Regions from separate parts of the Homo sapiens genome. Here all the other regions are linked to region 1. Evidence: promoter capture Hi-C in 16 types of primary human blood cells and fetal thymus (Javierre and others, 2016). All regions are on one chromosome and are shown on one strand. Each heading gives the region's core, a stretch centred on a gene start or on the middle of the fragment in contact. The rest is flanking DNA. Distances are from core to core; before and after follow the strand shown. Region 1 holds the start of ZNF207 (zinc finger protein 207). Region 2 overlaps RHOT1 (ras homolog family member T1). Region 3 overlaps RHOT1 (ras homolog family member T1). Region 4 has its middle 3.2 kb from the start of RHOT1.

Evidence for each region. Contacts are between HindIII fragments. The CHiCAGO score rates a contact against its expected background, and 5 or more counts as called.
Region 2: a fragment that was not itself captured here is called in contact with the fragment with the promoter of ZNF207 in region 1 in 4 of 17 cell types (M1 macrophages, M2 macrophages, monocytes and 1 more); the score reaches 7.9 in M1 macrophages.
Region 3: a contact is called between a fragment that was not itself captured here and the fragment with the promoter of ZNF207 in region 1, in 4 of 17 cell types (M1 macrophages, M0 macrophages, monocytes and 1 more). The highest score is 6.8, in M1 macrophages.
Region 4: a contact is called between a fragment that was not itself captured here and the fragment with the promoter of ZNF207 in region 1, in 1 of 17 cell types (erythroblasts). The highest score is 6.5, in erythroblasts.

Annotation. Positions count from the first base shown.
Region 1 is chr17:32,348,800-32,351,499 of GRCh38, reverse strand. It overlaps ZNF207 (zinc finger protein 207), which reads right to left and starts at 1,343. Exons shown (of 12, transcript NM_001098507.2): 1 at 1,174-1,343. The coding sequence starts at 1,214. It overlaps MIR632 (microRNA 632), which reads right to left and starts at 1,391; the gene lies at 1,298-1,391. It also overlaps a transcript of C17orf75 not described here. RefSeq lists enhancers at 1,254-1,603, 1,774-1,893. The HindIII fragment of the contact is 13,651 bases long and covers 1-2,700 here.
Region 2 is chr17:32,192,575-32,195,274 of GRCh38, reverse strand. RHOT1 (ras homolog family member T1) reads right to left here. Exons shown (of 20, transcript NM_001033566.3): 10 at 2,031-2,139; 11 at 1,168-1,288. Among named protein-coding and RNA genes, the nearest start is that of RHOT1, 51 kb to the right of the region's middle. The HindIII fragment of the contact is 5,090 bases long and covers 1-2,700 here.
Region 3 is chr17:32,174,320-32,177,019 of GRCh38, reverse strand. RHOT1 (ras homolog family member T1) reads right to left here. Exons shown (of 20, transcript NM_001033566.3): 4 at 1,658-1,701; 5 at 1,005-1,058; 6 at 807-859. Among named protein-coding and RNA genes, the nearest start is that of RHOT1, 33 kb to the right of the region's middle. The HindIII fragment of the contact is 1,327 bases long and covers 764-2,090 here.
Region 4 is chr17:32,137,998-32,140,697 of GRCh38, reverse strand. No RefSeq gene overlaps it. Among named protein-coding and RNA genes, the nearest start is that of RHOT1, 3.2 kb to the left of the region's middle. The HindIII fragment of the contact is 876 bases long and covers 813-1,688 here.

The DNA of each region.
Region 1 (2,700 bases), core at 94-2,593:
TTTGTTATAAATATTTCAACATTTACAAATGCACACTGAGGACAGGAAAGAGTTCAGTTAAGAAATCCCTAAGGTTCTGTCAAGACAATTACTTCACTAGATATGAAGACGATAGCAATAACTGGATTAGGAATTTAGCAATATTTAGAATCTAAGAGTAACTATATGGTGAACAATAATCACATAATTTCGAATGAACAATCCATAAAGTTGTTTCCAATTCCGTATGAATTTATGTTGCCAAGCAATGTATTTAAATTCACAGATCAATAAAATCAATAAAGCAGAATTCTTACATCAATAAAACAGAATTCTTACCTCACTACTCAGATTTTCCTAAAATCACATTACAAAATTCGTAACCGTATTTAAGCTATTTTTAAAACTGTTACATAAACGCAGTACTGTAACAAGCCGCCTTTACGTACAAAACAGTAAATAAAATCAATTTTAATGTAAAGAATATTAACGCTTCCAGAAAAAGCATTAATACCACACTGTAGTAAGAGTTTTCCTAATAAGATAGGCACTTTTTAGTCCTACAAAGTTGGGTAACAGAAACTCCGCCCTGTGAGAACGCTTCCTGAAGATTAAGGCGCCTCTGGGTGAGACACGGAAGCTAGTTCTCCTCCCGCCCCGAAAAGAAAAAAAAAAAAAAAAAGGTTCGAAACCAGGGTTGACTAACTTGGTTCTTTACTAAACCGCCAATTCGAAAAAATAAACACAAAACACACATAAAGTAAATAAAAACAGAAAAAGTGGGTGACAGACTGTGAAGCTGTCCCCAACCCTCCATGAAAGTAATAAGCCTATCGCACTCGAAGAAAAGTCCCTTGTTGAATCGTCACCAAAACAACGGAAGGTGGCTGAATAGTCCCTAGGGGACACTGTCCCTGGCGGAGGGGTCCAGGCCGCCTCCCGGAGTCCAAAATTCGCACCGAACAAGATCCTCCTGAGTCACAGAGTCACACGACCCACAACTGCAAAAGCCTGTCGACCTCGGAACCCCATTTTCCTAGAAGCCTTCCCAAGTCCAATCCCAGCCACCAGGCCACCCACGCAGACGCCTAAATACAAACGCTCCACGCCGTAAGCCAAATCCAGGCCTCCTAGTCCCAGGCCCCAACAACCGGCACCCCAACGCGACCTCGACTTCAAACCGACAAAGGATACCAGCACCACGGCTTCAGCTGCTTCTTCTTCTTGCGACCCATAACTGTGTTCTACCGGCAAAGTAAAAGGGAGGAGAAAAGAAGCAGGAGAAACGAGGCCAAAAATCCCTCACTTTCCCAACCCAACGGCTACCACCACGTCCCACAGGAAGCAGACACAAAATGGCCGACGGCCTCGTTCCCCGCTCCGCCTCCCGTCAAGCACTGCGGTAGGAGGCGGAGCCAAGAAGGGGAGGGTCACATGACGCAGACCTCCGCCCTGAGTGGGTGGGACTAAGAGGCGCGAAGAGGTGGCAGCCATCTTGTCCGTTTCAGAGTTTTTCGCTTTCGCTGGCTGTGCTTGCGGAGCACTTTGGGTTTCATTTGTAAAGGAGCCGGAGCCCCAGGTACGCTAAGGGGCATGCGAATGGAAAACAGAAAACAAAAAAACGGAAAAGATTGCCAGTGCAGTTAGGGCCGATCACAAATAAAGATAGAGACAGCGCCCAATTTTAATTTTGTTTCAATTGAACAGTAAATGTTGATTATGTGCCTATTAAATGCTAAACCAAATAAGTTAGTCTCTGCTTTGTAACTCGCAGATTGGTGACAGACGAGTACACAATGCAGAGTTCTCAGTGCGGCGTTGAGGGAAATGCGAAGTGCTGTAGGACCTCAGAGAGCGGGAGTCCTAGGGCGGCTGTAGTGGTAGTGGTCGTTGGGTTGTCAAGTAAAGTTTTGTTTTTCTTTGTTTTGTTTTATTTTTCTGAGACCAAGTCTCGCTCTGTCTCCCAGGCTGGAGTGCAGCGGCGCGATCTCTGCTCACTGCAACCTCCGTCTCCCGGGTTCAAGCGATTCTCCTACCTCAGCCTCCCGAGTAGCTGGGACTGCAGGCCCGCGCCACCAAGCCCGGCTAATTTTTGTATTTTTAGTAGAATGGGGTTTCACCATGTTAGCGAGGCTGGTCTCGAACTCCTGGGCTCAAGTGATCCGCCCGCCTCGGCCTCCCAAAGTGCTGGATTGCAGGCTTGAGCCGCTGCGCCCGACATAAGAAAGGTTTCTTGAGGAGTCAACGGGAGCAAGCAAGGTGAAGGAAAGGGTATCTCCGTAAGGGAGCAAAGAGTTTAAGTCTTTGAGGCTGGGCACGTGAAAAACTAATCGTGGTAAGACTGGAGCTGATAGCCGGGCGCGGTTGCTCACGCCAGTAATCCCAACACTATGGGCCAAGGCCGAGGCAGGCGGATCACTTGAGGTCAGGAGTTCGAGACCAGCCTGGCCGACATGGTGAAACCCTGTCTCTACTAAAAATACAAAAATTAGCCAGGCGTAGTGGCAGGCGCCTGTAACCTCAGCTACTCGGGAGAATGAGGCAGGAGAATCACTTGGACCTGGGAGGTGAAGGTTGCAGTGAGCCGAGATCTCGCCATTGCATTCCAGCCTGGGTGACAGAGTGAGACTCCGTCTCAAAAAAAAAAAAAAAAGACTGGAGCTGTCAGTGAAGGTGCTGGTCACAAGAGATAATCCTAGGGAGGCTAGCAAAGGCGGGTTC
Region 2 (2,700 bases), core at 70-2,569, 160 kb after region 1:
AAGAAAGAAAAAAAAGCCAGGCATTGTGTTGCACACCTATAGTCCCAGCTATTTGGGAAGGTCAGGTGGGAGGATTGCTTGAGCCATGGAGTTTGAGGTTGCAGTGAGCTAGCCAAAATGAGACCTTGTCTCTTAGGGAAAAAAAAAAAAGGCCGGGTGCAGTGGCTCACGCCTGTAATCCCAGCACTTTGGGAGGCTGAGGCGGGTGGATCACGAGGTCAGGAGATCGAGACCATTCTGGTTAACACGGTGAAACCCCTTCTCTACTAAATATACAAAAAATTAGCCGGGCATGGTGGCGGGCGCCTGTATTCCCAGCTACTTGGGAAGCTGAGACAGAAGAATCGCTTAAACGCGGTGGGAGGTTGCAGTGAGCCAAGATCGTGACACTGCACTCCAGCCTGGGTGACAGAGCGAGACTCCGTCTGAAAAAAAAAAAAAAAAAAGAAAGAAAAAGAACCACAAATAGACCAGTCGTTTAGGAAAATACCTACTTCAACTTAAGCTAAGAACAGGCTATAAAACTGAGGGAGAAGAACAATGTAAGAAAAATGTGAATCAACATATTTCTGAGATCTCTTGACTCCCAAAACAAGTTTGTTGTCTAGCATCTTATTTTTCCTTCCTCAGTAAAATGAACAAAAAAAGATACTTGTAGTCTCGACAAGAAGAGGAAAAGTTTGAGCCATGAGGGAATCAGTGGTTCTCAACTGGGGATAATTTCACTTCAGAGGGTACATTCGGCAATTTCTCAACAGTTTTGGTTGTCACAACTGGAAGTGTCACTGACATCTACGGATGTGGTAAAGATCCTATACTGCACAGGACATCCACAACAAAAAATTTTCTGGTCCAAAATGCCAATAGTGCTGAGGTTGAGAAATCCTGCTATAAAGCTCTGCTATAATTCTAAAATATTCCCAATTAGCTTGAAGCCCACCTCCCCATGTGTGCTAAATCAACCTTAAAAATATTTAACAAGTAAAATCATTACAAAACCAAAGGTGACTGGGCATGGCTCAATGCCTTTAATCACAGCAATTTGGGAGGCCAAGGTGGGAGGATCACTTGACTCAGGAGTTCAAGACCAGCCTGGGAAACATAGTGAGATCCTGTCTCAATAAAAAATTAAACAACAACAACAACAAAAAAAACAAAGGTACATACAGGGGGAACAAATATTCAGGTGTCAAATCCAGGTCATCATCATAACCAAATCGTCGAAGCACAGTCCAAGTAGTTTCGTGTCTCCCTCTCTGGATAAAAAGTGTGTGTAAAAAGAGAAAACCTGAAATAAAGTAAATTAGTAAATAAAGTGTACAGAGTCACATAGGAGAAAAGCATGTAACATAATGGCAAGAACCAGATTCATGAACATACGGATGCTAGCTTTGCATTGTAAAGCTCAAAACAAAACAAAATTCACAAGTATCTCAATGAAACAGAGCTGATTTCAGAATTGTTTCACATATACACCCAGCTCAGCAAGAGAGAGCACTAGAGGAAATGGCCAACATTGCATCTCAAGGAATATACTGACATGCACAAAGTTATATGAGAGTAGTGTTCTACAGATCTTTGAGCTTATTTTTGTCATGGAAAATTCTGGTTTTCAATCTCATTAACTTCACTGTGCCTCTATAATATATTCTCCAGGGAACATTCTATACTGGTAAATTTGACTCATAGACAAAATTCCCTAAAAATAATGACTATTTAAAGGCTGTTTATGAGTAGGAAGAATTTTAAGATACTTTTTTTTTGTTCCAGATATCTCCTTCCATCAGGTGGACCTCTGTATCCTTGAGATCCAACCAATTTCCCTACCTCTAATTTATATTGGTAGTAAAGATGATAATCCCCAACAATGGCCTGTCCCTCCCAACTCATAAATATCCAAATCAGACTTTAGGCATACTAGTAAATATTAACATTTCCTTAAAGTATAAATAATGCAATAAAGACCTTCACCTTCTGCCAAATTTTGAAAATATTAAGTTTCAAAAGGGGGAAAAATACCATTTACCCACCTTTCAGGGTCAACCCACTGTCAGCCACACCATCACTTATATGTTTTCTGACTACATTCTTGACATCCTCCAGAGCTTGAGGAGCTAATGGAGTGTTGAAACAAATCCTCTAGCAAAAAACATAAAAATATATTTAAAAACAAACCAGCGTTAAAACCACAAATAATATAAAATGATAATCTACAAAGCAATATTAAATCCATGAATTGCAACCAAAGAAACATATTCTACATTAGGAATAGTCACCACTTTTTTAAATGTATTATTTAAGTAAAACATGGGCTGGGTGCAGTGGCTCACGCCTGTAATCCCAGCACTTTGGGAGGCTGAGGCAGGCGGATCACGAGGAGATCGAGTCCACCCTGGCCAACATGGTGAAACCCCGTCTCTACTAAAAATACAAAAATTAGCTGGGTGTTGTGGCGCATGCCTGTAGTCCTAGCTACTTGGGAGGCTGAGGCAGGAGAATCGCTTGAACCCGGGCAGCGGAGGTTGCAGTGAGCCGAGATGGCGCCATTGCACTACAGCCTGGGTGACAGAGCGAGACTCTATCTCAAAAACAAAAAAAAAAAAAAAAAAAGTAAAACATGTCATTCTTAGAAAGAAACATTCCCAACTCCCTCCATCCTGTTTCTAAAACACAGGGCTCTTTCTGTAGCTATGTTATTCA
Region 3 (2,700 bases), core at 178-2,677, 170 kb after region 1:
ATGACCATAGTCATATGTTTAGAACCAGATCTTTAGCGTTTCAAGGCACAAAAACTTCCAACTAAAAGAGAAATCTAAAAAATTGAGAAAAGGACTAAATGTGTACAATATATAGATATTAGTCTGATTTTCCTATTTAAAAAGATTCAGGCCAGGCACAGTAGCTCTTGCCTGTAGTCCCAGCACTTTGGGAGGCCAAGGCGAGCAGATCATTTGAGGTCATGAGTTCGAGACCAGACTGACCAACGTGCGAAACCCTCTCTACTAAAAAATACGAAAATTAGCCAGGCATGGTGGTACATGCCTGCAGTCCCAGTTACTCAGGAGACTGAGGCATGAGAATCACTTGAATCCAGGAGGCGGAGGCTGCAAGGAGCCAAGATTGTGCTCCTATACTCCAGCCTGGGCGACAGAGCAAGACTCTGTCTCAAAATAAATAAATAAATAAATAAATAAATAAATAAATAAATAAATAAAACTGAGACTTTTCAAGCAGCAGTTTGAGGAAGAGAAATGTAAGATTTATGACCAAAATAATCTGTCTGAAGTTGTGAATCATGATATCAGAGTTCTGTTTCTTGCTTTGCTCTCAAGTATATCTACTGCCTCAAATGAATCCCCCCAAAAAAGGCACGTGGGTGTGTGTATGAACAGACAGAAAAACTGATAGATAAGGCAAACGTGGCAAAACGTTACCTAGTAAATTTAAGTGAAGGATTTAGGGAAGTTCAATGTACTACTTCTTGTACCTTTTCTGCAAGCTTTAAACTTTTTAATTATAAAAAGTTTGAGAGAGGAAAAAATACCTGCTGTCTTTGTCTGTTCTTTCATTTATGAGAGGAATCCATCGACTTGTTACCTAAAATGAAAATTAACAAGCGCTTAGCCATGATAAGGATCTTTACAAAACACTCTTCCCTTAGACCCCTAAAATTCTAAACTGAGAATCAACTTTGGAAGCACTCCACTGAAACCAACTATAGGGAAAAAAAGATCACACCTACCTTATCAATAGAATGCTTGTTGTTAACGGCATACACTATACAGATGACATTAGCCTAGAAGAAAAATTAACAAATTAATCGTATCTAAAAATAATAAAAACATAGACAGCACTTAATTAGCAACTTATTAATATATTCGGGTGAAAGGAAGAAAAAATTTAACAGCTAAAACAAAAAAACAAAAAAAGAATTAGCTTGCCTCTAAGAGAAAATGTTCCTAAGGACTTAAAGCAAAAACACATACTCAGTAACAGCCATAACAATAAAGAACTGCAAAAGAACTTTTGGTAATTAAGAGAATGAAAAAGGGACGGGGTGTATCACTTGAGGGCAGGAGTTTGAGACTAGCCTGGTTAACATGGCAAAACCCCATCTCTACTAAAATACAAAAATTAGCTGGGCATGGTGGTGCATGCCTGTAATCCCAGCTACTTGGGAGGCTGAGGCATGAGAATCGCTTGAGCCTGCGAGATGGAGGTTGCGATAAGGCAAAATTGCGCCACTGCACTGGGTGACAGAGTGGGTGACAGAGTGAAACACGGTCCCAAAAAAAACACAAAAACCAACAAACAAAGAGAATGAAAAAGGCAGGCTCATAAAATCATCACTGTTTTTCTACACAAAACCCCACACCTCTGTTTTTTAAAGCTCACCTGAGATATTTCTTGATGAAGTTGTTCATCACTCTGTTCTGCTTCTACAAATGACAGGAAGTCAATGTTTCATATTGCAGACACTTTCATAAAAACTAATGGCCAAGCTAAATTCTATGCAACACTCATCTAACATCCCTCAAAATGACATGGTGTAGCAAACACAAGGGAAAGCCAGGGGAAGGAAAAGGTTCAACTACGATAAGGCAGCTGGCCCTGAAAGACGAGTCTATAAAAGGATAACTCAGGCATGGAACAGCAGAAGCATTGTGTAATAAATCTAGGCCAGCATCTGGTCCAGAGTTGAAAAGGGTCAGGCAAAGGACTTCAGAAATCCAAGCTAGCAGACTGGGTGCTGAAGAGTCAGAAGCTCGGACAAAGAGTCTATACACACAGGATCAAAAGGCAGGTGAGATTCTGGGTAATACAAGCTTAAGATCTAGATAGCAGGTGGGAGTAATAATAACCAAGACCCAGAGGCAAAACTGTAGCTTGATAATGAAGTGATGAGAATTCCCTCTCTAGCATGTATCTTTAGCTAGAACTGGTCTCAATGGGTGGGTGTGCCTGCAATTCCACGCATGCAGGGATATGAATGATATAGCTAGGATAGAAAGCAAATAATTGAAGAGCAAAGCAATTACTGGCATACTGATTTAGACCACCTTAGGTTACATATATCTTCCCCTAAAAATGCCTGTTACTTCTGACATATAAACTAATATCATACATGAATTCAATGGTATTTTATACTATGCTAAATAACAGGCCATATTTTTAATATCTTTCCATATGTTAAGTAATCAATGGGTTAAGGCTTCAATTCTAATACTGAGGTGAATCTAATTATATGGCTACACATATTGAAGAATAATTCTGTAAATAAATCTAGTTATGAGACTGATTGTAGCAGAAGTCATTCACCTCCCTCAGCTTTCAGTACAGTGCTGTCCAACATACAGATAATGCAAGCCACATACATAGTTTTCAATTTTTTAGTAGCAACCTTTAAAAAGGTAAGTAAAAAAGGTAAAATTAAATTT
Region 4 (2,700 bases), core at 1-2,500, 210 kb after region 1:
TAGATGTAAATAAGGTGCTTTCATCTCCCTCCTCCCCCCACACCTCAATGAGTGGAAATGTGAAATTCAGGAGGCTTGGTTACCTGATCTTTCAGGGAAAAGTAGCCCTCAGAATTTTAGTGTTACAAAATGTTTGAGTTGGAAGAACCCTGACAGAGCTCCTATTCCAATCCCGTTACTCTGTAGATAAAAAAAAAAAAGCAAGGCCCACAGAGACGCAATGACCTGGCACAGACGGCATGGCTGAGGCTGAGCTTTGCTCTGCCATTCCTAGTGCATGACTCTAGGCAACTCATGTCACCTAGTTGTGCCTCAGTTTCCTCTCTACCAAGTGAAGGCTGTGATCTCTTATGAAATTGTTTGGAGGAGCTCATAAAATAATGTATTTTATGTGAATAATGTAATGAATTGTAAATCTTTTTCCTAAAAAACAAACAAACAAAAAACAAGTTACACAAATATCAGAGCACAGAGGACAAAAGCCTTTTACAGAGGGGCAAATTCTTTAGGGCACTGCTTGCACCATGCAGCTTTGTGAAGAATCTAGATCCCTAAGAGCTCTCAATCAGCGTTGCCAGTTAATGACAATGTTGACTCATTGGGGCTTCTCCAGGAGGGTGAGCAGTAACAAGGTCTTCGTGGGGTTGTAGATGTGTACTGGGTAATGTCTGGTAGGCAGGGGCTTGGAAAAAGCATTTATTTAGAGGGACATCACAGATACAATATTGCAAAGAACTCCTTTGTAAATAAAACTTACTTAAAAATCCATATCCAGCCAGGTATGGTGGTTCAACACCTATAATCCCAAAGCTTGGGGTAGCTGCGGTGGGAGGATCTCTTGAGGCCAGGAGTGCAAGACCAGCCTGAGAAACATTGAAACCCCATCTCTACAAAAAATAAACAAATTAGCTGGGCGTGGTGGCATGCACCTGTAGTCCCAGTTGGGAGGCTGAGGTGGGAGGATCACTGGAGACCAGGAGTTGGAGGCTGCAGTGAGCTATGATGGCACCATTGCACTCAAGTCTGGGTGACAGAGCCAGAGTCTGTCTCTAAATAAAAAAAAATAAAAATCTGACTAGGCCGGGCACAATAGCTCACACCTGTAATCCTAGCACCTTGGGAGGCCGAGGCGGGTGGATCACTTGAGCTCAGGAGTTTGAGACCAGCCTGGCCAACATGGTGAAACCCTGTCTCTACTAAAAATACAAAAGTTAGCTGGGCGTGGTGGTGCATGCCTGTAATCCCAGCTATTCGGGAGGCTGAGGCAGGAGAATCGCTTGAACCCAGGAGGTGGAGGTTGTAGTGAGCTGAGATCGCACCACTGCACTCGAGCCTGGGTGACAGAGTGAGACTCCATCTAAAAAAAAAAAACCTAACTCAAGAGCTGCAGAAAAGAGGCAATATCAAGCACTTTCAGTGAGCAATGGATATGGTTTGGTACAAACTGAGGCCAGCACTTGCTAAAGTTGGGGAGAGGGAGTCTGGTATGCCAGGGTTTGCCTCCCCTGCAATGTAAGTTTCTTTCTACAGTCCGCAGCCATCTCCTGATCATCTATACTTCTGCCAGTCTGGCTCCCTGACTTGCCTTGAACTTTATTCCCTCCTTATGATGTTAACAAACGTCCACTAGGTGTCACTCTGATGTTCTCCTGGAGACAGCACAGGTCGCTGGTTAAAGCAGGGAAGCTTGGCTGGGGATGAGAGGATTGCTTGAGCCCAGGAGTTCGAGACCTGCCTGAATAACACAAGGAGACCCTGTCTCTACAAAAAATTTTAAAGAATTAAGCCGCCGTGGCTCACGCCTGTAATCCCAACACTTTGGGAGGCCAAGGTGGGCAGATCACCTGAGGCCAGGAGTTTGAGACCAGCCTGGCCAACATGGCAAAATCCTGTCTTCACTAAAAATACAAAACTTAGCCGGGTGTGGTGGCAGGCGCCTGTAATCCCAGCTATTTGTGAGGCTGAAGCATGAGAATCTCTTGAACGCGGGAGGCGGAGGTTTCAGTGAGCCGAGATCGCATCACTGCACTCCAGCCTGGGGGATTAAGCGAGACTCTGTCTCCAAAAAAAAGAAAACAAAAAAAATTAAAGAATTAATTGGACGTGGTGGTGCACACCTGTAGTCCCAGCTACGTGGGAAGATTGCTTGAGCCTAGGAGGTTGAGGCTGCAGTGAGCTGTGATTGTACCACTGCACTCCAGTCTGGGCCACAGAGTAAGACCCCGTCTCTTAAACAACAACAACAACAAAGACTAAGGATGCTGGAGTCTGCCTGCTAGATCTGAACATCAGTTGTGCCAATTACTAGCTGTGCATCACTGGACAGATTATTTAACTTCTCTTTGCCTCATCTGCCAAATGGGAATAACAATAGGACATACCTCATGAGATTGTTATGAAAATTAAATTAGTTAATATAATAGGAAAGGCTGGGCACAGTGGCTCACGCCTGTAATCCCAGCACTTGGGAGGATGAGGTGGGTGGATCCCTGAGGTCAGGAGTTCGAGACCACCCTGACCAACATGGTGAAACCCTATCTCTACTAAAAATACAAAAATTAGCCAGGCATGGTGGTGGGCACCTGTAATCCCAGCTACTTGGGAGGCTGAGGCACGAGAATCACTTCAACCTGGGAGGTGGAGGTTGCAGTGAGCTGAGATCATGCCACTGCACTCCAGCCTGGGCAACACAGAAATACT